Regions from separate parts of the Homo sapiens genome. Here all the other regions are linked to region 3. Evidence: promoter capture Hi-C in 16 types of primary human blood cells and fetal thymus (Javierre and others, 2016). All regions are on one chromosome and are shown on one strand. The core of a region is centred on a gene start or on the middle of the fragment in contact, and the rest is flanking DNA. Distances in the headings are between cores, read along the strand shown. Region 1 overlaps ZFAND5 (zinc finger AN1-type containing 5). Region 2 overlaps LINC01504 (long intergenic non-protein coding RNA 1504). Region 3 holds the start of TMC1 (transmembrane channel like 1). Region 4 has its middle 14 kb from the start of ZFAND5.

Evidence for each region. Contacts are between HindIII fragments. The CHiCAGO score rates a contact against its expected background, and 5 or more counts as called.
Region 1: a contact is called between a fragment that was not itself captured here and the fragment with the promoter of TMC1 in region 3, in 6 of 17 cell types (endothelial precursors, M1 macrophages, non-activated CD4 T cells and 3 more). The highest score is 12.9, in endothelial precursors.
Region 2: a contact is called between a fragment that was not itself captured here and the fragment with the promoter of TMC1 in region 3, in 7 of 17 cell types (non-activated CD4 T cells, naive CD8 T cells, activated CD4 T cells and 4 more). The highest score is 9.4, in non-activated CD4 T cells.
Region 4: a fragment that was not itself captured here is called in contact with the fragment with the promoter of TMC1 in region 3 in 2 of 17 cell types (M2 macrophages and endothelial precursors); the score reaches 5.7 in M2 macrophages.

What each region holds. Positions count from the first base shown.
Region 1 is chr9:72,350,779-72,357,173 of GRCh38, reverse strand. It overlaps ZFAND5 (zinc finger AN1-type containing 5), which reads left to right. Exons shown (of 7, transcript NM_001102420.3): 6 at 118-243; 7 at 1,073-5,761. The coding sequence ends at 1,221. Among named protein-coding and RNA genes, the nearest start is that of ZFAND5, 11 kb to the left of the region's middle. The HindIII fragment of the contact is 239 bases long and covers 1,893-2,131 here.
Region 2 is chr9:72,322,355-72,329,096 of GRCh38, reverse strand. LINC01504 (long intergenic non-protein coding RNA 1504) reads right to left here. Exons shown (of 5, transcript NR_110952.1): 3 at 376-433. Among named protein-coding and RNA genes, the nearest start is that of LINC01504, 20 kb to the right of the region's middle. The HindIII fragment of the contact is 6,784 bases long and covers 1-6,410 here.
Region 3 is chr9:72,519,405-72,526,094 of GRCh38, reverse strand. TMC1 (transmembrane channel like 1) reads right to left here and starts at 4,487. Exons shown (of 24, transcript NM_138691.3): 1 at 4,182-4,487. It overlaps LOC101927234 (a long non-coding RNA gene), which reads left to right. Exons shown (of 3, transcript XR_001746721.3): 2 at 726-832; 3 at 2,278-2,677. RefSeq lists enhancers at 221-782, 783-1,344. The HindIII fragment of the contact is 6,235 bases long and covers 1-5,838 here.
Region 4 is chr9:72,375,760-72,382,370 of GRCh38, reverse strand. No RefSeq gene overlaps it. Among named protein-coding and RNA genes, the nearest start is that of ZFAND5, 14 kb to the right of the region's middle. The HindIII fragment of the contact is 6,804 bases long and covers 1-4,903 here.

The DNA of each region.
Region 1 (6,395 bases), core at 763-3,262, 170 kb after region 3:
GAATACTTATAAACATTTTTATCAGGCATCTTCCTGTTTCTCTTAAATACTTCCTTTTTTGACTTAAAAATGTTAGCCAGTGAATGCTTGACAAATTTGTGTTTTTGTCCTTTTCAGTTGTCACTCAGCCCAGTCCATCAGTTTCTCAGCCCAGTACTTCTCAGAGTGAAGAAAAAGCTCCTGAATTGCCCAAACCAAAGAAAAACAGATGTTTCATGTGCAGAAAGAAAGTTGGTCTTACAGGTATTACAAAACACAAGACAATGTATGTTTTACTTCTGCAGTTAACAAGGAGCTTTTGGTCACTCCCTAAGAGACTAGTTGGTCTTACACATAAAAAAAAAAAAAAAGCCTGACTAGCTGTAGTCTAGGAAAGGTGGAGGAGGTGGTATTGGGGTGGAAAGAAGTTGGGTTTTACTTCCATTTGTCTCCTAATCATATAAAACTATTAACTCAGGCCCTCTTATTTTATTAGATTGATAAAAAGTTTTTGTATACCTAGGGAAAATGTTACTGAACTAACAGTAAGCGCCACCTACTTTGAGCTATGCAGGGAATGTTCTTGGTGCTTTTTTTCTTGTCTCCTTCAAATCTCAGACCTTGATGGTTGTTTTCACTTGAGGAAGCATTACTTAAGATATGGTAGGACTGTGTTTTGAATCCAGCTTAGCCTAACTCCAGAGCCTGTGTAAATTTTATCCTGCGTTGCATCTACAGGAGTCGATAGAGGGAGAGCATCTGGGAGAAATTAGCTGGCAGATAGCCCATTTTGTTTTCTCCACGTGGTTTGGCTTACCAAACACTTCGCTATTGCCCTTGCAAGGAAAGACTGAACATAGTTATTTGAATTTCTCACCATGTCAAAGGAAGTTAAAAGTTCCTTTTCCAGGTTAACGTGATAGACTCTGTAAGAGTTGACTGTGTCTTATCACCAGGAAGTGGAAGAAAAGAGTTCACTGTCTTTTATGTTACAAAGCAATGAAAATCTGGTTCCTTTTCTATAGTGACTAAGGCTTTTTTTTCTTTTAATTGCCTCAAGTTCTCAAATGACTCTACTTCTTCGTTTGTACAGGGTTTGACTGCCGATGTGGAAATTTGTTTTGTGGACTTCACCGTTACTCTGACAAGCACAACTGTCCGTATGATTACAAAGCAGAAGCTGCAGCAAAAATCAGAAAAGAGAATCCAGTTGTTGTGGCTGAAAAAATTCAGAGAATATAAATTACTTCTTGTGAAGAGACTGAAACTTTGTTTTTATTTTAATATATCGTAGGAAAACATTAAAGAGCAGATGCATGGCCATTTTTCTTTGATGTTCTCCAGAGTTTTACATTACACTTGTCTGTCTTATAATTGATATTTTAGGATGTTTGGGTGTTTGTTACAGGCAGAATTGGATAGATACAGCCCTACAAATGTATATGCCCTCCCCTGAAAAAAATTGGATGAAAATCTGCACAGCAAAGTGAAACACACAGATAATAGGAACAAAATGTAGTTCCCATGTGCCAAACAAAATAAATGAAATCTCTGCATGTTTGCAGCATATCTGCCTTTTGGGAATGTAATCAAGGTATAATCTTTGGCTAGTGTTATGTGCCTGTATTTTTTTAAAATGGTACACCAGAAAAGGACTGGCAGTCTACTTCTACCATAGTTAAACTTCACCCTCTTTAATTTCACAACATATTCTTTGGAAGCAGGAAGAAATGCTCATAAAGAGGATCAGACCTTCTTTCCCGTGAAACCAGTATTTGGCGCCATATATAAGCCTGGTTAAATTGGTCATCTAAAGCTGTCAAATAAGACATTCTGTGAAAGGTAAACATCGAAACTGGTTATAAGTAAAACCATCAAGCCAACAACAGGGTCTTGAGATAACCTTTGAAGCTTATTGTACTGGCCTGCACCAGAAGATGTCTGCATTACTCATTGCTAAAAATGTGTAGCACAGAACTGCACTAGGATTAATTTGTTTACAAGAAGAAATTTAAACTCTACGTTTGGTTTTCACATACAGCAGCTCTATTGAATAACATGCATCTGAATTTTAAGTTGCAAAGGTATCTGAATAATTTTTCATGTGCATCTTTTGTCGAATGTTTTGGTTCAAGAAAGAATGTTTAAAGCTTTTTAAAAGACTTCAGTTCTTAATGTAACTGTACCCTTCTGCATGGAAAATCATAACCAACATGGCTGCAGTAGACTTCTTAGTGGTATCCAGCACCACTTGCAGAGGGCTGCTTTATCATATTGTACTTGGGTGTAGGACTCTAGTGTTCTTGGGTGTATTGCATGGGCTGCATTATCTACAGCATTGTACAATAACAACTAGAAAAGGCAGTATACTTCACTGATGCTTGTCTGGTAATAATCACTTCTGTGTTATAATGGAAGGTTTTTTGTGATGTATGAAACTTGTGTTTTTTATATATAAATGAGTATAGTTAGTGTTGTGGTAATGCCTGTTTTCATCTGTAAATAGTTAAGTATGTACACGAGGCACTACTTCTGATTTATTGCAATGTTCAGTCCTAGTTTTTACTTTTATTCTTAAAGCATTCAGTTTTGCTTTCAATTTTATGTACCTTAGTTCTGAGTTAGACCTGCAGATGTGTACAGATAGTTCATATTTATGTATTGCACATAATCATGCTATTCAGCATTGATGCTATATTGTATTATGTAAATAATAAAAGCCATGTACAGAGGGAAACTTCACTTGTTCATTGGGTTTTTAAGCCATAGTTGGAGTCCTAAAGGGGGAAAATTAGAAAATGTTACTTTACATGGCTATATAATTTTTTTTCCTTTGCCATCGCTGAACTTGTTCAAGTGATAATCAAGAGATATTAGAAGCATTTGCAGGTATGATACCTGATAGGCAGTTTATTTTTGAAGAATTCAATAGGCACCTTTGGGATTAAAACAATTTTAAAATTTGAGAAAGATGAAATTTGAACAATTATGGCCTACCTCGCTTCTCCATGTTGTAAAAGATGATGTTTTATGACAATTCTGAAGAAGAAAGTAGGTATGACTTAGTTTACAAAAAGAGTTCTGTTTTATTTCTGTTTTGGGTTTGGCTCTAATACAGAGATTCACCCATGGACTTGGTCTCTGTAGCGTTTATGCCAGATCATAAAGAACAAGGGGTGACAGGTACATGTTGACTTTACCTGGGGTAAATGATTACCAGAGTGCAACTGTTGCTTCTCTGTGATGGAGTTTGGGGTGGAAATACCCTAGTTTTATCTGTCAGTTCTTTGCATGCTGCTACTTTTGCTTCAAGTTAGGGAGGTACATATGTATGTCAAAGTTCCTATACTGACATAGGGTAGTATTTCTCTGAATATGAAAAGTCACAATTGAGTTGAAAATTTAGAAGTTGAAGATTTAGAAGGGCAACTTAATTTTTCAAGTTAAAAATGGAAGTAAGAGTGGTATAGAGAAGGTAAGATGAGCCCTCGGACTCCATCACTCTGAAGGTCTGAGTAGTAGCAAGAGATAGATTTTTGTTTGGCCAGGCTGCAGTGCAATGGCGTAATCTTGGCTCACTGCAACCTCTGCCTCCTGGGTTCAAGTGATTCTCCTGCCTCTGCCTCCTAAGTAGCTGGGATCACAGGCACCAGCCACCACGCCCAGCTAATTTTTGTATTTTTAATAGAGACAGTTTCTCCATGTTGGTCAGGCTGGTCTTGAACTCCTGACCTCAGGTGAGCTGCCCGCCTCGGCCTCCCAAAGTGCTGGGATTACAGGCGTGAGGCACCGCACCCGGCCAATCAGTTTTTTTTGTTTTTTTTTTGTTTGTTTGTTTTACAAGAAACATTAAACCAGATCAGAACAAAGATTTGTCAGGGTTGTCCATTGACTGGGGAGAAAGGGAATCAGTGTGTAAGGCACCTGAGAGGACTCAGTTCTACCCAAATTCTTGCATTCAAACCTGAATGCAAGGCCATGAAGTCCTTTGAAATGTACAGATATTAAGCAATTTAATAATATACCATGTTTCCCTTACATAAGCAGACAAATATTTACACCCCCATGACCTGAAGTTTTGTTAGGCTGTGACCACATGAATTCGCAGTATAAATGGGTGAGTCCTTTTTGAAAACCTCATCTTCAGTGTGCCTGATCTGTAAAACTAGAGCCTCAGGTTTGATCCTAGGTAGGCTTCCCACAACGTGGGGAAAATTAGTTTGTGAGGGAAAGCTGTTTCTGAGCATTATGGCATAGTGATTAAGATGAGGGACCCTGGAACCAGCCCGTGATTTTGGGCAAGTTATTTTAGGTCCACTTTGGACTGCTTCATCTCTTAAATGAAGACAGCAACCACCTTCAGGAGTGTGAAGGTGACAACACTTAAAACTGTGCCTGGCACATTGTATTTGCTATTGTCTTAATGTTCTGGAATAATGGTTTCCATAACTTGGGAAGAAAACTTTGAGAACAGGATTGGTTACATCAAGTTGTATAGTGAAAAGATAAAGATTTGTTATTTAAACTTGCAGTTTAAAGTCATTAGAATCATTCTTTTCCGTAAGGCTTTCTTTGCAAGAGATCTGCATTAAATAAAGTTGCTAGGAAATAACTAAAATTGGGGAAATAATCTAATAATAGCAAGATGTTAAGCATACTATTATTGTATTTTGGGGGTTGGTAATAACATTCACATGGATTTATCAATACACACTGAGAAGCAAAGCCTCTCAAGCTGTCCCATATCCTCCATTTCAAAGGCACACATACATTTTAGGTAACTCATAATTTAGAAAGGTTATTTAATCTTTTCCACATGTAAATATTTGAATATGTACAAAGACTTGATTTGACTCTTGTCTGTTTTTGTTTTGTTTTGTTTGTTTGAGACAGAGGCTCCGTCGCCCAGGCTGGAGTAAAATGGCATGGTCTCAGCTCACTGCAAGTTCCGCCTCCCGGGTTCACGCCATTCTCCTGGCTCAGCCTCCGGAGTAGTTGGGACTACAGGCACCCGTCACCACACCTGGCTAATGTTTTTTGTTTTTTGGGTTTTTTTGTATTTTTAGTAGAGAGAGGGTTTCACCGTGTTAGCCAGGGTGGTCTCGATCTCCTGACCTCATGATCCGCCCACCCCGGCCTCCCAAAATGCTGGGATTACAGGTGTGAGCCACTGCGCCTGGCCGACTCTTGTCTGTTTGAATGCAAAGTTCTCAATAGTGGTTTTTGTCCATAAGTATTAACTTATAATTTTGGAGAGTGATAGGTATGGTTGCTGGTTGATTAGCAATAAGATTATGTAGCCTTAAACTAGCTAGAAGAGTTTGCATGGGTGAGGCAACAGGCTGTTAACAAAAAGAAACTGGAAATACAGTTTCCCCTGTTTGTTTCTCCTGTTTGTACAATCTGCTTTAAAAACAAGTGAACATGCACCATGTCAGTCATGGTGAATCGGCCAACAGCCAGCCCTTGCCAGTTGACATCACAGTCTAAGATGGGAAACTGGTACAGATAGACATGAAGAGAGCTTAGCAGTGGTTGAGGTGGTGACTAAATATACAGTCATTGAATAAATACCGTGTAGCAAATGTAAAAAAAAAAAAAAAAGTACAACAGAATACAAAAGTGCCATTTAATATTTTATAGCTATTTCTATGCACAAGTGCTGGTTTTAAATTTATATAAAAGCAAAGACTGTTTCTGTGTTTTCTTCCAGAGTATTTCTGTTACAGCCATAGAAGTAAAGTTAATAAATGTAAGACTTTTTTTGTTTTGTTTTGTGCCATAAATGTAAGACTCCATTTTGTCTGCAACTGCTAAGTGCCACTTTCCTTTTATTATGGGTAGGGATGTTGCTAAGGATACTTAAGTAGTTAAGAGCAAGATGAAAGAAGTTACAGATTATTTTCTAGTTGGCTAATCTGTGTTGAATACATTTTTTATGATGATTTTTATTGACACCACAGGACCTCAGCCTGTATATATTGATAATGTAACCAAAGCTGCTCAGGAATTGGGGTAATTTTTCAGTCAACTCAGAAGTTAACAGGAAATCCTTGTTACACATTCTTAAATTTTAGATAAGTGCAAGAACTATTAACAAAATAACATTAAGCACTTACCTTGTAGAGCTCAGGCATCAGCCAGGAAAAAAAATACAAATAAATTAGCCTAATGACCTCATCTTAAATACTTGTGTCTGGGTAAATTTTTCAGACTGATCTTGTGAATATAATCCAGGATAAATTAAAAATGTTGGCTGGTCCTTGCTATGTAATATGCTTCTGCCCTCTTGTCCCTTCCCATCACTAAAAATGTATTCATACATGCAACTACAATACCAGTTGACAAATACGATTTAGATTTTCTGTTGTGTGGTATTTGTCTACTATTATAGAACCTCAAGCATTTCTCTAAAG
Region 2 (6,742 bases), core at 1,769-4,268, 200 kb after region 3:
AAGCTGGAAACCATCATTCTGAGCAAACTATCTCAAGGACAGAAAACCAAACACCACGTGTTCTCATTCATAGGTGGGAATTGAACAATGAGAACACTTGGACACAGGGTGGGGAACATCACACACCGGGGCCTGTCATGGGGTGGGGGGAGGGGGAGGGATGGCATTAGGAGGAATACCTAAGGTAAATGACGAGTTGATGGGTGCAGCACACCAACATGGCACATGTATACATATGTAACAAACCTGCACGTTGTGCACGTGTACCCTGGAACTTAAAGTATAATAACAAATGTATATATATAAATTTTTTTTAAAAAAGAGAAGAGAATTGGAATCAGATTGCTTGGGTTCAATTCTGGTTTCATGACTTACTAGCCAAGTGAATCTTTGTGCAAATTACTTCAACTTCTCCAGATGTCAGTTTCTTCATCTGTACAAGGAATAATAATAATGCCTATTTTATAAGATTGCTGTGAAAGTTTAATGTAATTATCTATTTAAAGCTGAATATAACAAGTGCTAAATAAATATTAGATATTTGTTAACACAACTTGGGAAAGCAGGTGGTGAGGGTTGTATTAGCTTCCTAGGGCTTCTGTAACAAATGTCCACAAACTGAGTGGCTTAAAACAATAGAAATTTATTCTTCACAATCTGGGGCCCAGAAGTCTGAAATTTATGTGTTGGCAGGAATTCACTCCCTCTGCATTCCAGGTGCCTATATCCCTCCAATCTCTGCCTCCATTTTCACATGGCGTTCTCTGTGTGTCTTCTCTTCTGTCTCTTTAAGGACACTTATCATTGGGTGTAGTCCAGGATGATCTCATCTTAAGATCCTTCACTTACTTACATCTGCAAAGACCCTTTCTCCAAATAAGGTCACATTCACAGGGTCCAGGTTTTATTTATTTATTTATTTATTTATCTGTCTATTATCTGAGTGGAGTCTTACTCTGTTGCCCAGGCTGGAGTGCAGTGGCATGATCTTGGCTCACCACAATCTCCGCCTCCCAGGTTCAAGTGATTCTCCTGCCTCAGCCTCCCGAGTAGCTGGGACTACAGGCATACGCCACCATGCCCAGCTAATTTTTGTATTTTTAGCAGAGATGGGGTTTCACTACGTTGGCCAGGCTGGTCTTGAACTCCCGACTTCGTGATCCACCTGCCTTGGCCTCTGAAAGTGCTGGGATTACAGGCGTGAGCCACTACGCCTGTCCGGGTTCAGGTTTTAGAACAAGGACCTATCTTTTGGGAGGCTGTCATTCAAACCACTATAGGTGTTCAGAAACGTTTTCACTTCTCTTTTAACTACTTTCATTCCACTTTTGGCCGGGTACAATCTTTATGCTGTTTCCTAAATGCTGATGGTTCTTCCTTGACTTAGGACACTTTGCTAACTCTGTTAGGCTCGGTGCCATGGAGGATATAAAAATAAAACATCCTGGCTGGGCACAGTGGCTCATGCCTGTAATCCTAGCACTTTGGGAGGCCAAGGCGGGAGGATCATGAGTTCAGGAGTTTGAGACCAGCCTGGACAACGCAGTGAAACTCCATCTCTACTAAAAATACAAAAATTAGCTGGGCGCGGTGGTGTGTGCCTGTAGTCCCAGCTACTCGGGAGGCTGAGGCAGGAGAATCACTTGAACTCGTGAGGCGGAGGTTACAGTAAGCAGAGATCGTGCCACTGTACTCCAGCCTGGGCAACAGAGCAAGACTCCATCTCAAAAATAAATAAATACGTAAACAAATAAAATTTAAAAAAAAATCACAGACCACAAAGTAATACAAATCTGCCATGATCAAGGCCATCAGAGAAGTATAGATGAAGGCACTTAGAGGATGAGAGTTTACTTTGAAAATAAGCTAATAATTGAACTAGGTGATGGGTACATATGGGCATGTAGGTTGGGGTGTGTAGGGCTCCTTCTACGTAAGTGGAAGGAATAATGAAAGCAAATGTAAAGAAGTAGGATAGCATGGAGTATGTATTGAAAACAGCAAATTGATTTTGCTTTGGAACAGGGATCAATAAACTGGCCCATCCAGCCTACCATCTGTTTTTATATGTGCCCTGAACTAAGAATAATTTTCATATTTTAAATGGTTGAGAAAAAACAAGATAATTAAAAATTTATAACATGAAAATTATATTAAATTCAAATATTAGGATTCATAACTAAGCACAGCCACACTGTTTTGTTTACATATTGTCCATGGCTGCTTTCACACTACAATGGCAGAGTTGAGCAGTTGCGACAGAGACCACATGACTGAAGAGCCTAAAATATTTTCTGTCTGGTTTTTTTTTTTTTTTTGATGGAGTTTCCCTCTTGTTGCCCAGTCTGGAGTGTAATGGTGCAGTCTCAGCTCACTGCAACCTCTGCCTCCCAGGTTCAAGCGAGTCTCCTGCCTCAGTTTCCCCAGTAGCTGGGATTACAGGCAGATGCTACAATGCCCAGCCAATTTTTGTATTTTTAGTAGAGACAGGGTTTCACCATATTGGTCAAGGCTGGTTTTGAACTCCTGACCTCAGGTCATCTGCCCGACTCAGCCTCCAAAAGTGTTGGGATTACAGGCGTGAGCCACCATGCCCAGCCTCTATCTGGTTCTTTATAGAAAAAGTATGCGGCCAGGTGTGGTGGCTCACACCTGTAATCCCAGAACTTTGCGAGGCCAAGGCAGGCGGATCGCTTGAGCTCACAAGTTTGAGACCAGCCTAGGCAACATAGTGAAACCTTGTCTCTACCAAGAATACAAAAAAATTAGCTGGGTGTGGTGGTGTGCACCTGTGGTCCCAGCTACTCGGGTGGCTAAGGCGGGAGGATCGCTTGAGTCCCAGAGGTGGAGGTTGCAGTGAGCTGAGATCATGCCACTGCACTGCAGCCTGGGTAACAGAGTGAGACTCTGTCTCAAAAGAAAAAGAAAAGAAAAAGTTTGCCAACTCCTGCTTCAGAAGAACCCTCAGGGGCATAAAGGAAATAGCAGAAGAAGATATGCTGGTCCAGTATTGCCATTTGGCCTTTGGTAACAGCCTACATTCTTGACTTTGCTCAGCCTTTTTCTACCCACCTAAATTTTCCCATCCCAAATATTATCCTCTCAAGACCTTAATTGGTTATTTGCTAAGTAACCTGAGAGCTAATTTTGCGATCTTTTTAAAGCTGTGATTGAATCATAACAGTTTAATGTATAACTTATTACTCCTCCTAGGTAACATATTTGGAATTTAGGGGAACCCAAACCAAAAAATTGCTTCCCCCTGGCAGAACAGTGGGAAAGATATTTGCAAAAGTGAGCCTTCCTTCAACTTTCATGTCACACCTTATAGGCAGCCAATTCTACCTATCAAAAGCAAACTTGGTTGTTAGTTTTGCTGTTACCCTTTCAATTGGTTAAGTTACTAGTATGCCATTTGCTGCTAAGTTTACCCTTAGGGGAGAAAAATAACGGCAAGAATTACTTTACAATAATTGTCAACCACTGAGAGTTAAGTCTCTATGCCCCCTTTAGCTAATAAGGTAGGCCTGGGTAGCTATCATTAAGTCAAAGATTTTTTCATGAAGGAGGAAACAGCTCCCTGATGAATTTGAGATGAGATTAGAAATGCTGAAAGCAGTGTTCTCAAACTTTAGCATAGAGAAGAACCGCCAGAGGTCTGTTAAAATACGAATCCGCTAATCTTACCCCCAGAGAATCTGTGTCTCCAGTGGAACTCAGGAGTTATGGGGGGAAAAAAAATGATGAAGGATCCAAGCTACCTCCCACAAAGCAGTCTTTATATTTGGTTCTTTACTTGCTCCAAGAATCCCTAAGTTGTTAAAGTAACAGACAATGTAAGTAGACAGAAGCATCATTTTGAAAGACTTTCCTGTTCTCTCATTCTGTTTAACTGACCTTTATTCCCAGTGAGTAAACATGAATCAAACCCTAGTCTAAGTAAGAAAACGTGATTTGAGGGAAGGGCTGGATCTTTGAAAGCAGTATAGAATGGAGGTTAGGAAGGGAACTCTAGACAGAGGCTGCCTGATTCAAATCTCACCTCTGTCACTGGTGCTATGTGAGCTTGGGTGACAACTCGAATCTCTCTGTGCCCTCGTTCCTTCATCTGTAAAATGGGAATAACAATATTATCTATGTCTCAGAGTAGCTGTGAGCATTAAATGAGTTACTACATGTAAAAAGCATAAAATAGAAACTTTTAGTACATTTCAATAAATATATAAAAACTTATTGGAGAAACTCTTGTGTGACCTCACATACCTTGTAAGAGTGGCATGAGAATTAGAGCATGTTCATAATTAAACAATTATGATTGTGCTATTTACTCCAAGTTAGCCAGGGGCTTGTTCCTTAGAGACCACTGTCATTTTCTACATTTGTCCATGAAGTTAATCCACATATTTACAAATCCTAAATGTAACTTTACTTTTATTTTCAATAGGTAACAAGTATTAAGAACCATATCACAAGGACTTTGATAACTGCTTGACTTTGTGTGCTTTATCTCATTTATTTCTCAAAAAAAAAAATTCCATGGGGTAAGTACTACTACTAGCTCCATTTTACAGATGAGAAACTGATGTTGGCCGGGTGTGGTGGCTCACGTCAGTAATCCCAGCACTTTGGGAGGCCGAGACGGGTGGATCACCTGAGGTCAGGAGTTTGAGACCAGCCTGGCCAACATGGTGAAACCCCATCTCTACTAAAAATACAAAAATGAGCCAGGTGTGGTGGCGCACGCCTGTGGTCCCAGCTACTCGGGAGTCTGAGACAGGAGCCTTGCTTTAACCTGGGAGGCGGAGGTTGCAGTAAGCCAAGATCTCGCCACTGCCCTGCAGCCTGGGAGACAGGGGAAGACTCTGTCTCCCCCACCCACCAAAAAAAAAAGAAAAAACAGAAAACTGATGTCACACAGCTAGTAGGTAAGTGCAGCTGGGACTCAAATCTAGGTTATCTGGCCCCATTCTTCTGTGGCAGTAGTTCTCAACATGGGGCAATTTTGCCCTAGTGGTAGACTGAATAATGGGCCCCCAAACATGTCTACATCCTAACTCACAGAACCTGTGAACATTACCTCACATGGCAAAAACACCGTGCAGATGTGATTAAGTTAAGGATTTGAGATAAGGAGATGAGCCTGGGTTATGCAGGTGTGCCCAAGAGAATCACGACAGTGCTTCTAAGAGGAAGGTAGAAGGAGTCAGAGTGGAGGAGAGGGCGATAGGATGACAGAAGTCAAGTTTGGAAAGATGCACTTTGAAGAGGTAAATGAGGACACAAGCCAAGGAATATAGGTGGCTACTAGAAGTTGAAAGAAGACAAGGGAATGGATTCTCCCTTCAGAGCCTCCACAAGGAACCAGCCCTGCTAATATTTTGATTTTAGTCTCATAAGACTCATTTCAGACTTCCAACCTCTGGAACTGTGAGAGAATAAATTTGTGTTTAAGTCATTAACTTTGTCATAATTTCTTACCACAGCAATAGGAAACTATACCACTCTCCAGGGCACACATGCCAGTGTCTAGAGACATTTTTTCCTATTGTAGCAGGAGAGGTGGTACTACTTGGTAGTATCTAGTGGGTGGAGACTCAACCTCCTGCAAGACACAGAGCAGTCTCCCACAACAAATAATTATCCAGCCCAAATGTCACCAGTGCTTGACAGAGCAGGAGCACCGTCATGTTGGACAAACACCACCACTTTAAGTTCCAGCTCTCTTTCTAGTGTCATGCATTTCAAGGAAATCACTTCTCTTCTAACTACAAGCAGCCAGAAAGAGCAGACAGTAAAACACAGATAAACAGAGGTGGGGGGAAAGGCTCTTGGGTAACTGCCAAACTTCGCCCTCATACAATGGGCCCCGGTAAAACAGTGGGCCCCAATAAGCACATTCCTTTCCCTTCAGGTGCACTAAGTTAGGGAAGCTAAAAGCAGAATTGGGGGGTATGCCTGCAGCTGCAGAAAGATGTATGGGAACAGACACACAACTCTCCCTCCCAGATAAGCACAACAAAGAGACACAGAAGCAGTCCAAGCCTCTGATAAACTCTTCCACCCTGAATCCTTAAAACCTCTTAGTGTGTAAGAGAGTGGGCTCTGACCTAACTCGGCCAGAAGCCCCTCTCAGGTTTGTTTTCTAAAATAAACCTGTCCTTGTTGACTGTCGAGCCACCCTTCATGTTTCTTTCCTATTTCTTTAATTCTTACAGTGCTGAGGTTGAGAAACCCTGCTGTAGAGCAGCAGAACAGGAAAATCTGCACGGAATGCCAAATACTTCCAATCTGTAATCAGCCTTCTACCTAGCATAACTCAGGCTGGTCTTTAGCACATCATGGACATGGATGTTGTATTCACCTGGTTTATTGCTAACCCACTAAAATCAATTATGGTATTAGAAGAAGCTTTTTTATCTATAGAATATAGTTCATGCTCCTCCCTCTGGTTTTGAAGGCTCACCACAGCTCACTCCAACTTACTTTTCCAGCATGATTTCTTTTTAATCCCCTTTGCAAACCAAACATCCTTGGAAAAAGGGCAACTCTATGTAGCACAGGGCAGGAACGAATGAACTGTCTCCTCAATGACATAGTTGCATGCTCTTACAGCGAAGGTATTCCACTTGAGGCTAAAATTTCATGGCAAGAGTCCACTTGTTCTAGCTTGGTCATGTGCTCTCCCTAAACTAATTCCCAAGGCCAGGGCAATTCTATTCTCATTTTATCCAAAGAAAGCACT
Region 3 (6,690 bases), core at 3,238-5,737:
GCAAGGGGCTGGTGCTTTCAAAGTTCAGGCACAAGCAAGATTAGCGAATGACACTCTGTGCAATAATGCTTACTTAGTCTGTGGTTAAGGAATTTTTTTTTTTTTTTGAGACGGAGTCTCACTCTGTCATCCAGGCTGGAGTGCAGTGGCACGACCTTGGCTCACTGCAACCTCCACCTCCCAGGTTCAAGCAATTCTCATGCCTCAGCCTCCCAAGTAGCTGGGAATACAGGTGTGTGCCACCACGCCCGGCTAATTTTTGTATTTTTAGTAGAGACGGGGTTTTGCCATGTTGGCCAGGCTGGTCCAGAACTTCTGACCTCAAGTGATCTGCCCGCCTGGGCCTCCCAAAGTGCTGGGATTACAGGCGTGAGCCACCGCAACTGGCCAAGGATTTTTTTGTTTTTCATGTGAGCAAGGAGAGAGATACAACAGTTCAAACTGTTTCCCTTTCTTTCAGTGATGATCCATCCACTGAGCCTTGTCATCTACAACAAGCTCTGCGTTTGTCAGTCCCAGATGGCCTTTGATTGGCTGAGTGTCATCTGTGTTTCTTTCTGGGTGGAATATTGAGTAATAAAATCTCAAAAGAAATTAACTTATTCACACTGTTGTTAAAGCAAGACATTGGTCTCGCCCTAAACTTCCCATCACACAAGCCTAAGGCATCTGACTCAGTACTTACAACTGCCCTGAGGTAATGTAGTATCTGGTTCACTTTTTAGCCAATGAAGCGTGCTGTGGAGGACAAAGAGCAGCAGAGGCAGGAAGCAGTGACAAGGAGTGAGCTGGGAAATTCCAGCTGCCCTCCTGTCCTACTTACAAGGAATAGGTATGACTCATTTTTAAGATGCAAACAGATGCTGACTTGGCTAACAAAATCCTATGCAAAATGTAACCTCTCTAAGACCTTGTTTCCTTTTCTGGAAAAAATAAAACAGATAAGCTATTATATTTGGACACCTGGATACTATTGTTAAGTACCGGTTTAAAAGAATAGGCATACATGTATTTGTTTTGAATATGCCCTTTCTTATGTCCTTGAAGCCGGCCTTCTGGACCGTATCTTTCTATCAAAGACAAACTCTACAAGAAAAACCTCCACAATCCAGGCTTGGGCTGTGCAGGTGTGTGGTGATCTGCTCCTTAGAGATATGTGGAATTTTCCGGTAACGACGCTAATTAGTATATCCTCGTGTCCACCACCACATAGGATTCCAAACATCTGGTTTATAATCCTGGCTCTGCACTAAATGGCTATGTGGCCTCAGTTTTCTCACCTGTAAAATCAAGAGGTTGGTCCCTTAAGATTTCTCTCTCTTCTCACTTCTTTACTGTTTTATAATTCTAGGACTTAAAAAAATTGAGAATGCATACCTATCTTTTCCATTTACTTATCTACCATAAGAATGAATGCTTATATGGGATACAACATTTTGTGTTTATCGGTTTTCTTTCATTGCAGGGAAAGGAAGGCATGACTGGGGTAATACTGGGTCAAGGATAAGATATAACATGTATTAGAGTTAACAACTATTCCTCGCTTACCTCATTGGGTTGTTATAGTGATCAAATGAGATCGCATCCTTGAGAAGTTTATCATGTATTATTAGTCTCTATTAAAATGTGGTTAATATTACTAGTAATAAAAGTGAACATTTATCTAATAAACATTGGTCAAACACCTTCTACATATCAGGCACTATGGTAAATACTAAAAAGACACTGATCCTGTTTTTCAGGCTCAAAGGAAGTCAAAAGAGCTCAGATAAATTGATGACAATATTTACCCTTAAAATTATTTTTTTCCTTTTTGAGACGTTTGGGCAGAATAAAGGCACAAATTTCTACATGCTATTTTCTTTCTCTATTTTCAAGTACTATGCATCTTTTTAAGTGCCCCATTCTAAACCTGAAGAAAAAAACGACATATCTAAGATTCTGCAAAAGCTCAACTGATTTCAGGCTAGGTGAAGAAATAAAAGATGCTACAGTCTATTAACTGTTGGGACCAAGTATAGTGGCAAGTATTTAATGGGCTCCCCAGCACTGACGAGTGAAAATGGATGATGATAACCTCACTGCAAAGGGTAATAGAAGACTGACCTTGGGCTATGAAAAATGTGTTCTGTAGACTTGTGGCTGCAATTTCAGAGCCCATGATGCCCCTTTCTCACTTTATGCTTCAGTAGCAAAGCATTTACCGGCTTTGAGTTCTTTTAATATAATATGCTGTTTCAGGCCTCTATACATTTTTTTTTTATTCTCTGTTCTTAGCCTGGAACAAGTACAGTTGACTCTGAACAAGTCAGGTTTGAACTGCATGGGTCCACTCATATGAAGATTTCTTTCAACGAAAGCTACCCCGAGTGTGCCTGCCTTTCCTGCCTCCCCTTCCACCTCCTGCACCTCTACCATCCCTGCCACCCCTAAGACAGCAAGGCCAGTCTCTTCTCTCTCCCCCTCCTCCTTCAGCCTATTCAACTTGAAGATGACAAGGATGAAGAGCTTTATGATGATCTACTTCCCCTTAATGAACAGTAAATATATTTTTTCTTCCTTACAATTTTCTTAATAGCATTTTCTTTTCTCTAGCTTACCTTATTGTAAGAATACAGTGTATAATACATAAAACATACAAAATATGTGTTAATAAACTGTTTATGTTATTGGTAAAGCATCTGGTCAACAGTAGGCTGTTAGGAAAGTGTGAGGGTAGTCAAAAGTTAAGCTCAGATTTTTGACTACGCAAGGGTCGGCATCCCTAAACCCCAAGTTGTTCAAGGTCAACTATAATTCCCTATTACTCCTCACTCTTCCTCCCTCCTTCCTCCTCTTCTTCCTTATCCCTTCTCCTTCATTTTCCCCACAGGCTAACTGCAACTCAGCCCACTTCATTTCCTAATTTTTCCTCCTCCCTGCATCCCCCCGAGTCTTTGTGAGATGCTCTTCCCTTCACTCCTGCCAGCCCTATGGCATCATGGCATTATCATGGTGTATGGAGAACTTCTGTCTTATCTGTTTCTCCCACTAACCCAGTGGTTTTCAACTGGAGACAATTTTGCTCCTCAGGGGACATTTGGAAAAGTCTGGAGACATTTTTAATTGTCACTTCTGGGGAAGGGGGTTGATACTGTCATCTACTGAGTAGAAGCCAAGGATGCTGCTAAACATCCTACAGTGCACAGGACAGCCCCTCACAAAAAAGGATTATCAGGCCCCAAAGGCCAATAGTGCTAAGGTTGAGAAACTGCACTAGGCTGAGTTCCTTTAAAATATGACCCTATTCAGCGCTGTTCCAGCAGCTCCACAGACAGTGTCCAGTGCCCAGTAGGAAGGAATCCAAACAGTTTTAATATTACATTTGAAATTTTAATTGAAAAACTCTTCTGACAGCTGTATGTTATAACTAATAAGCAATATGACCACATACCACAATTCAAAGGAAAACCAATATCCAGAGGTAAAGGTGGCTTACACCCATCAGTCTTTGACACTTCCTCCTATCTAGTTCTCTGTATTTCTTCCCTTTCTCCTTTTCTCTTGTCCCTGTGCTCACTGTCCCCCTTTACTGTCATGTTTGTTTGAATTCCACTTCAAAATGGGAATTTGAACAGAGTGCAATAAATTGTCCCACATTTGTTTATTTTAGGAAATCATTGCATTTAATTTTAACATTTAAACATATCAATTAGGCCAGGTGCGGTGGCTCACGCCTGTAATCCCAGCACTTTGGGAGGCTGAGGCGGGCGGATCACGAGGTCAGGAAATCGAGACCATCCTGGCTAACACGGCGAAACCCCGTCTCTACTAAAAATACAAAAAATTAGCCGGGCGTGATGGCGGGCGCCTGTAGTCCCAGCTACTTGGGGAGCCGAGATCGCGCCACTGCACTCCAGCCTGGGAGACAGAGCAAGACTCCGTCTCAAAAAAAAAAAAACTTATCAATTACTGGGTGACATGCTGTGCACTGCAAGAAAAACAAAGATAAATAGGAAACTGGGACTATCCTAACTGGGGGAGATTTCTGTAGCAGTAGAAAAGTAGAGGAAATATAGTTTTATTTCACTAATGTGATTAGGGAATATCTCATGGAGAAAGTCTTCGATTTAGGTCTTCACACATGTTTCATAAAGAATGTTAACACACCACACATAGGTAATAATGTTGTCTTTCCTTACCTGGCATCATTATGAGGGCCACTTTTTGGGGCAATGATTCCTAAATTTCAGCAACTCCTGGAGGGCTTGTGAAAGAAAGCACAGATTGCTGGGTTCTGCCCTCATAGTTTCTGAGGCAGTAGGTCTTCGGTGAAATCAGAAAACTGGTGTTTCTTTTTTCTTTTTTTTTTTGTGACGGAGTCTTGCTCTGTCACCCAGGCTGGAGCGCAATGGCGTGATTTCAGCTCACTGCAACCTCCGCCTTCCGGGTTCAAGCGATTCTCCCGCCTCAGCCTCTGAGTAGATGGGAAACAGTCGCGCGCCATCATGTTTTTGTAGAGGCGGGGTTTCACTCTATTGGCCAGGCTGATCTTGAACTCCTGACCTCAGGTGATCCGCCCACCTCAACCTCCTGAAGTGCTGGGGTTATAGGCGTGAGCCACGGCGCCTGTTTGTTTTTTTTTTTCTAATCAGAGGTTTTGCTCTTGTCGCCCAGGCTGGAGTGCAATGGTGTGATCTTGTCTCACTGCAACTTCTGCCTCCCAGGTTCAAGTGATTCTCCTGCCTCAGCCTCCCAAGTAACTGTGATTTCAGGTGCCCGCCACTACACCCGGCTAATTTTTGTATTTTTAGTAGAGGCGGGGTTTTGCCATGTTGGCCAGGCTGGTCTCAAAACTCCTGACCTCAGGAGTTCGGCCTCCGAAAGTGCTGGGATTACAGGCATGAGCCACTGTGCCCGGCCTAGAAAACTGGTGTTTCCAACAAGTCCTTTGGTGCTGCTGGTGCTACTGCGGGCCTTCTGAGGAGACTTTGAGAACCGCTGCATCAGGATTATCAGCCTGGTAACTCCTGGCCGAAGAAATGCACACCCTTCATTTGGCTAAAAGAAAGAATTTCCAATATTCATAAAGAAAACACAACTTGTGGGTTCTCCAAGCAGGAGAGGAAAAATCATGTTCCAGTCTATTCCTGTAACTAATGAAGGGCTCAGGTTTCAAAGGTAAGTTAATTGTCAGACCCACTTTATTGTACCCAGTGTCCTTGGGAAACATAATTATTTATTGGAAATATGTCACAACTAACATAAGTCTTAAAAATTTGTTAAATTAGAAACAAAATATTGTATTTGCTGATATGTTAAAACATAAGGGCCTAACATTTAGAATTGCACTTCTCATACTCACAACATGTACTCAAAATGCTGTTAACATCTACTTTGATGATTGTTTTGGGTTTACTTGAATCTAATGTTTCCATTTAATAATTCCTTTTTTTTCCCCTTTCCTTTTTTCAATCAATCCTTTCTCTTTTCTATGTTCTATATTCATGTTATCTTAGAATTCCATTTTGGCCTTCTAGGTTCTTTACTTCTTCCTCCAGCCTGTCATTTTCATGTCTTCAGTGATTTCTCAGACTTCTCACAGAAAGTTAACCATTTTTGTGCATCTTGAAACTTTTAACCTTTGATTTGAAGATAAATGCTAATAAATAAATATAATTCTTATGAATACATTATGCACAATGTTAAATTCAAAATGACTGACATGTTTCATGCTGTGTGCTATAGATATGCTAAACTTCATTTCAAACAGACTAAATAAAACACATGGAACTACATGCACTTTTTGTGAACAGCATCTTCATACCTGTTGTTTGTTAATGTCAGCAATTATAAGCTTATAGGTGTGTTTTTCAAGTGATCACTGAAAATAAATGTAGTATGTCTATTGGCAGAACCACTCACACCTACTAATTATTTGAAAAACATGCTCAAACACACAGTAGTGCCTTCTAGAGAAAGCATAGTATAGTCCTCCCTCATTTCCAAGGACAAGAATTCATTTCTTTAAGCTTTCTTCACGAAAGAATGCAATAAAAGAGGAGGAAACTGGGACTTGATTGAAGAAATATCTCTACTGGGAGCATGAACTAATAATGAGTGACTCTAAGAAATCTCTCACAGGCATTTTTATTTTTGGCTTTTGTTGTTGTTGTTTGGTTGGTTTTCATTTGTTTTTTATTTTTATTTTTTATTTTATTTTTATTTTTTGAGGCAGAGTCTCGCTCTGTCACCCAGGCCAGAATGCAGTAGCACTGTCGTGGGTCACTGCAGTCTTTGCCTCCCAGGTTCAAGTGATTCTCCTGCCCCAGCCTCCTGAGTAGCTGGGATTACAGGCACCTGCCATCATGCCCAGCTAATTTTTGTATTTTTGTAGAGACGGGGTTTCACCATGTTGACCAGGCTGGTCTTCAACTCCTGACCTCACGTGATCTGCCTGCCTCAGACTCCCAGCTGTTTTTTTATTTTTTAATTTTAATTTCATTTTTTATTTTTTGGGGGACAGGGTCTCACTCTGTCACTCAGATTGGAGTGCAGTGGTGTGATCTCAGCTCACCGCAACCTCCGCCTCCTGGGTTCAAGCGATTCTCCTGCCTCAGTCTCACGAGTAGCTGGGATTACAAGTACACACCACTACCGCCCAGCTAATTTTTGTATTTTTATTAGAGATGGGGTTTCACCATGTTAGCC
Region 4 (6,611 bases), core at 252-2,751, 140 kb after region 3:
AGGGAGCAGGCCATTTTTAGCATCTCTTCTTAGGTAGAGCAATTTTCAAATGAGATTTATGGCAGGCTTTATAAAATCTTAGCAAATAAACCTATGTCTCGTGTTTCCTTTTGTAAGGATGACCATGGTTCCATCCTTCCCTCTCGTGGCACCCACCATCTGCTAAGAAACATGACTGATTCCTGGTTTTCTGATCCGTTTGCAATTTTAACTTGAGTTTTTTTTTTTTCAAATTGTCCTATTCGCAACTCTAAATATGTCAAGATTAGTCAGAAAAAATGCAATCCTTCCTTTTTAAAATGTTATCTTAAAGGGATATATTATCTTTGGTAAAATGAGGTTAATTTCAGATCACTCACACACAAACACACAGGCACATACTACTTTAGATCTGTGCCACATCAATAATGCAGTAGCCCGGATTATTGACCAGCTGAAACAAGGAAAGTCAGACTATTCTGTAGGTCTATAGATGCGGGACATTGCATTTAAATTGCCTGACATTAAAAGCCGAAAAAGGAAAGGTAGGAACTTTTGCCATCAGAAAATTTGTGAGATTAAAATAAATAAATAAATAAATAAATAAAGAAGAAAAAAAAAGAAAAAGAAAACACAAAAAAGATCTAAAACAAAAGATAACCAAAAAAAAAAAAAAAAAAAGAAAATTTGTGAGATTACGTCTCTCTTCACACTTAGCACCCCTTAGCATAACAGCACCTCTGATATGTTAGATTGCAACCTAGGTGTAGGCTTCATCTCCTTTTAATCTTTTCCTGTCTCACAGGGAGTAAGTATTCTAGTGACCTTGTGAAGGGAAGTCTACAGTCTTGGCTTACTATTTATATGGTGGATTTATCAAAAGATATTCACTTAATTTTTTTTTTTTTTTTATGCTCAGGCTGGAGTGCAGTAGTGCCATCTCAGCTCGCTGCAGCCTCCGCCTCCCGGGTTCAAGCGATTCTCCTGTCTCAGCCTCCCTTTCCCTGTAGCTGGAACTACAGGCATGTACCACCACATGGCTAATTTTATATTTCTAGTAGAGACGGGGTTTCATTATGTTAGCCAGGCTGCTCTCGAACTCCTGACCTCAGGTGATCTGCCTGCCTTGGCCTCCCAAAATGCTGGGATTAGAGGCATGAGCCACTGCGCCTGGCCAAAAAGATACTCACTTTAGTGAATGAGGGTCCTGTCAACTCTCTTTACTGACTATTAAATAGGGATACCACCCACCTGCTCCAGATACATTCCAACCCACCTTCCCTCAAAACAAACACTACTTGGACTGGGATGACCAACCATTTTGGTTTGCCTGGGACTGAGAGGTTGACTGTGACATAGAACTTTCACTGCTAAAACTGGGAAAGTACCAGGCAAAACAGAGGAGCTGATCACCCTAACTTGGACCCTCATTAAGAGTGGAACAGTTCCTGATTGAGATACGCTGACACTGTGCCTTGATAGAGCTGCTCTGTTTCTTTTTACCACACGATGAATAAGGCCTCAAGGTCCAGGCCTTTGAGGTACACCATGTGGAGGTTCTCTCACTTTTCCACTGACAATTTCCAAATTAGCAAAATGGTGATAATAGTTGTGACTACATCCTAATTATCTTATGAGAATTGAGTTTATATTAATATATATAATGGTGACAACAAAGACTGTCATATAATCAGTGCTTAGCAAATGTTACCTATCTTATTTTATTTATCTATTTATTTATTTTTGAGACGAAGTCTCGCTCTGTTACCCAGGCTGGAGTGCAGTGATGCGATCTCGGCTCACTGCACCCTCCACCTCCTGGGTTCAAGTGATTCTCGGGCCTCAGCCTCCTGAGTAGCAGGGACTACAGGTGCCCTCCACTACGCCCAGCTAGTTTTTTTGTATTTTTAGTAGAGACGGGGTTTCACCATGTTGGCCAGGCTGTTGTTGAACTCCTCACCTCAAGTGATCCACCCATCTCAGCCTCCCAAAGTGCTGGGATTATAGGCATGAGCCACCATGCCTGGCCACCTATTGTTATTAAAATAACTAGCTATGGATAGGGGAGAAATGACGCAGGATTTCTCCTCCTCTGCTGCTGATTCTTTTCTAGTGAATCTTAAATGTCCTGTATGTATTGTATTTTCAAAGGTTAAGAAAGAGAAAGAGGGAAAAAGAAAGGAGAGGGAGAATAAGGGAAAGAGAGAAAGAAAGGAAAGACAGAGAGAGAAAGAAAGGAAAGACAGAGAGAGAAAGAAGAAAGAAAGAAAGGGAGAGAGAGAGAAAGAAGGAAGGAAGGAAAGAAGGAAGGAAGGGGAAAGGAAGGGAGAGAAAGAGAGAGAAAAAGAAAGAAAGAAAAAAAGGAAAGAAAGAATGAAAGAAAGAAAAAGAAAGGAAGGAAGGAAGGAAAAAGGGGAGAGAGAGAGAGAAAGAAGGAAGGAAGGAAGAAGAGAGAGGGAGGGAGAGAAAGAAAATACTAAAAACTTACAGTCAGTTAAGTTAGTAAGATTTATTTTCCATCTTAAAAATTATTTCTACCCACAAGGACTAAAATTTGAGCACAAGCAAAGCCCAGGTAAAAAATGTATATTTTTGAGTCTGGGCATGGTGGCTCATGCCTATAATTCCAGCACTTTGGGAAGCCAAGGCGGGCAGATCATCTGAGGTCATGAGTTCGAGACCAGCCTGGCCAACATGGCAAAACCCCATTTCTATTAAAAACACAAAAATTAGCTGGTGAGGCAGGAGATTCGCTTGAACCAGGAGGCAGAGGTTGCAGTGAGCCAAGATGGTGCCACTGTACTCCAGCCTCAGCAACAGAGCAAGACCCCATCTCAAAAAAAACAAAAAACAAAAAAGTGCTGGGATTACAGATGTGAGCCACCAGCACCATGCCCCAATGGTATCTTTAAAATGAAAATAATTAATATTAATGCATTCTTATGCTCTTATCAACATTGTTTATCATAGCTAAGAAATGCAAACAACCTGAATATCCATCAGTAGGATAGTGATTAAAATAATTACATTCCACTCATACTCTGCAATTTGTTAAAATGAATAAGGTAAATAATTTACATGGAAAGATCCCCAAGGCGCATGTTGCAAAACAACACATATAGCAAAACCTTATGTATTTAAACAAATCACAAGGATGACTCCCCGTCTCAAAAAAAAATTATTTGTTGCTTAAAATTTTTACAAAGAGTTTGTTCATAAATTATTAATACTTTGTAATTTAAAAAAAAAAAACACAAAAAAAACAGCTGGAGGAAAGAATTCTACTCAATTCTTCTGTCGTTATTTTGTTCCTCTTCCTTCTCCCTCACACCTAACATCCTTCTAAAAAAAAGGAGGAAAAACAGTTTGCTGCAAGTGCCAAAGTATCCGGATTGCTGTAGATGAGGTATAGGGCAAATAATTCACTAACTGATAACAAGGATTGACCACAGTAAAGTGTCCACAAAATTATACCCAAGTACAAACTGAAAGAAACAGCCACACTGGGCCAGGCGTGGTGGCTCATGACTGTAATCCCAGCACTTTGGGAGGTTGAGGCAAGCAGATCACAAGGTCAGGAGATGGAGACCAGCCTGGCCAACATGGTGAAACCCTTGCCTCTACTAAAAATACAAAAATTAGCTGGGTGTGGTGGCACGTGCCTGTAATCCCAGCTTCTCGGGAGGCTGAAGCATGAGAATTGCTTGAACCCGGGAGGCAGAGGTTGCAGTGAGCCGAAGTCGTGTCACTGCACTCCAGCCTGGTGACAGAGCGAGACTCCATCTCAAAAAAAAAAAAGAAAAGAAATAGCCACACTGTTGAGCATGATCTCTCAGTAAGTCTTTTTATAATAAAATTTGTTAGCTGTTTTTTGGCAATGTTTTTTTTTGTTTTTTTGTTTGTTTTTTTGTTTTTTTTTAAGACAGAGTCTCACTTTGTCTCCCAGGCTGGAATGCAGTGTCACGATCTTGGCTCACTGCAACCTCCCCATCCCCGGTTCAAGAGATTCTCGTGCCTCAGCCTCCTGAGTAGCTGGGATTTCAGGCACCTGCCACCATGCCAGGCTAATTTTTGTATTTTTAGTAGAGATGGGGTGTCACCATGTTGGCCAGGCTGGTCTCAAACTCCTGACTTCAGGTGATCTGCCCACCTCGGCCTCCCAAAGTGCTGGGATTACAGGTGACAGCATGACTGGCCCCAATGGTATCTTAATAGTGGTGGAATATATTTAAATGGAACACTAAAGTTCCTTTTTTTTTTTTTTTTTTTTTTGAGAGGGAGTCTCGCTCTGTCGCCCAGGCTGGAGTGCAGTGGCTCGATCTCTGCTCACTGCAAGCTCCGCCTCCGAGTTCATGCCATTCTCCTGCCTCATCCTCCCGAGTAGCTGGGACTGCAGGCGCCCGCCACCACGCCCGGCTAATTTTTTGTATTTTTAGTAGAGACGGGGGGGGTTCACCATGTTAGCCAGGATGGTCTTGATCTCCTGACCTCATGATCCGCCTGCCTCGGCCTCCCAAAGTGCTGGGATTACAGGCGTGAGCCACCGCGCCCAGCCTGATTAAATCTTATCTCAGGATTCTGGGGAAGTTGGAATAGATTGCCTTGTGAGCAAATCCTTTCACAGTATTAGCGGTACCAGCACAGAATCTGAATGCTGGAGATGTTTTGTTGTTGTTGTTGTTTTTAGATGGAGTTTCACTCTTGTTGCCCAGGCTGGAGTGCAATGGCATGATCTCGGCTCACCTCCCGGGTTCACGCAATTCTTCTGCCTTAGCCTCTCGAGTAGCTGGGATTACAGGCATGTGCCACCACGCCTGGCTGGCTAATTTTGTATTTTTAGTAGAGACAGGGTTTCTCCATGTTGGTCAGGCTGGTCTTGAACTTCCTACCTCAGGCGATCTGCCCGCCTCGGTCTCCCAAAGCTTTGGGATTACAGGCGTGAGCCACCACACCCGGTCTGGAGATGTTGTTTAGAAGACTTCTATGCTGGGTGGGGTACTGGAGAGGACCCTCTAGTATTCACTGCAAGTCGAAAATTCTGCAACTGTCAATGGTTTAGGAAAGGCACTTACTATATTGGAAAGAATTCGACTTTGGAAGTCAGACTGACCTGGGTTTGACTTCATTCTCAGATAGCAACTATACAATTTTAAACATGTTACTTATCTCCTTGTGCCTCAGCTCTGCCTCTGCAAAAGAGGATGATCATCACTGCTTCAAAGAATTATTGTAAGAATTAGAGATAAGGCATATAAAAGCACAAAGTAAGCACAAAATAAATACTAAACATTATTTGCTCGTAACACATATAGTTCCTTTAATCTTTATGTAGTCATGTTGCTGTATTGGTTTTTATTTTCAAAATTGATTTACTGGATGGAGACGGTGGCTCACGCCTGTAATCTCAGCACTTTAGGAGGCCAAGGCGGGCAGATCACAAGGTCAAGAGATTGAGAATCGATTGAACCTGGGAGGCAGAGGTTGCAGTGAGCTAAGATCAAGCCACTGCACTCCAGCCTGGCGACAGAGCGAGACTCCGTCTCAAAAAAAAAAAAATTAATTTACTGTAAAATTCTGTCTTTTTAACATCTTTAAATATTCTATCTTAACTATAAGGTCAAGTGACTACAAACGAATGAAATTTTTTTAAAAACATTAAATTAACCATAAATTTACCTATTTAAATAAGCACTCAAAGAAATCACAGTCTTTTTTTTTTTTGAGATGGAGTCTCGCCCTGTCGCCTAGGCTGGAATGCAATGGTGCAATCTCAGCTCACTGCAACCTCCGCCTCCCAGATTCAAGCGATTCTTCTGCCTCAGCCTCCCGAGTAGCTGGGATTACAGGCTCATGCCACCATGCTCGGCTAATTTTTTGTATCATTAGTAGACACATGGTTTCACCATGTTGGCTAGGGTGGTCTTGAACTCCCGACCTCGTGATCCGCCTGCCTTAGCCTCCCAAAGTACTGGGATAACAGGTGTGAGCCACTGTGCCTGGCCAGAAATCACAGTCTTATAATTGCCAGGGACTTTAGAAGTCATCCAGTTGCATCTAACTCCTATTGCAGGAATCCTTTATTTATTTATGTATGTATTTATTTATTTTTTTGAGGAGTTTTGCTCTTGTTGCCCAGGCTGGAGTGCAATGGTGCAATCTCGGCTCACTGCAACCTCTGCCTCCCGGGTTCAAGTGATTCTCCTGCCTCAGTCTCCCGAGTAGCTGGGCTTACAGGCATGAGCCACCATGCCCAGCTAATTTTGTATTTTTAGTAGAGATGGGGTTTGAGACCAGCCTGACCAACATGGAGGAATCCTTTATTTCATTCTTTCATCCTGAAGGCTGCTCAATCTCTTAGCTTCTAAACCTCTTAGCCAGAAAAGGATGGAGAAAGAGAAGTCTTCCTGAAAGGAAGGAACTGGACTAGAAGAGAAGCTGCAAGTGCACCTGGGGTGTCAGTGCCTCCTTCTATCAGACCCACTGCACAGGGTGGTCTTCAGGTCTCCACAGAAAGCAACAAAGAAATCTTCTCTGCTTCTCTGATCTTTGGGAAAGCTGGAGGAGACTGATATGGACCATCCTTCTATATCCAATAAAAAGTACAAGAGAGCATTGGATTTCAGGGAATTTGT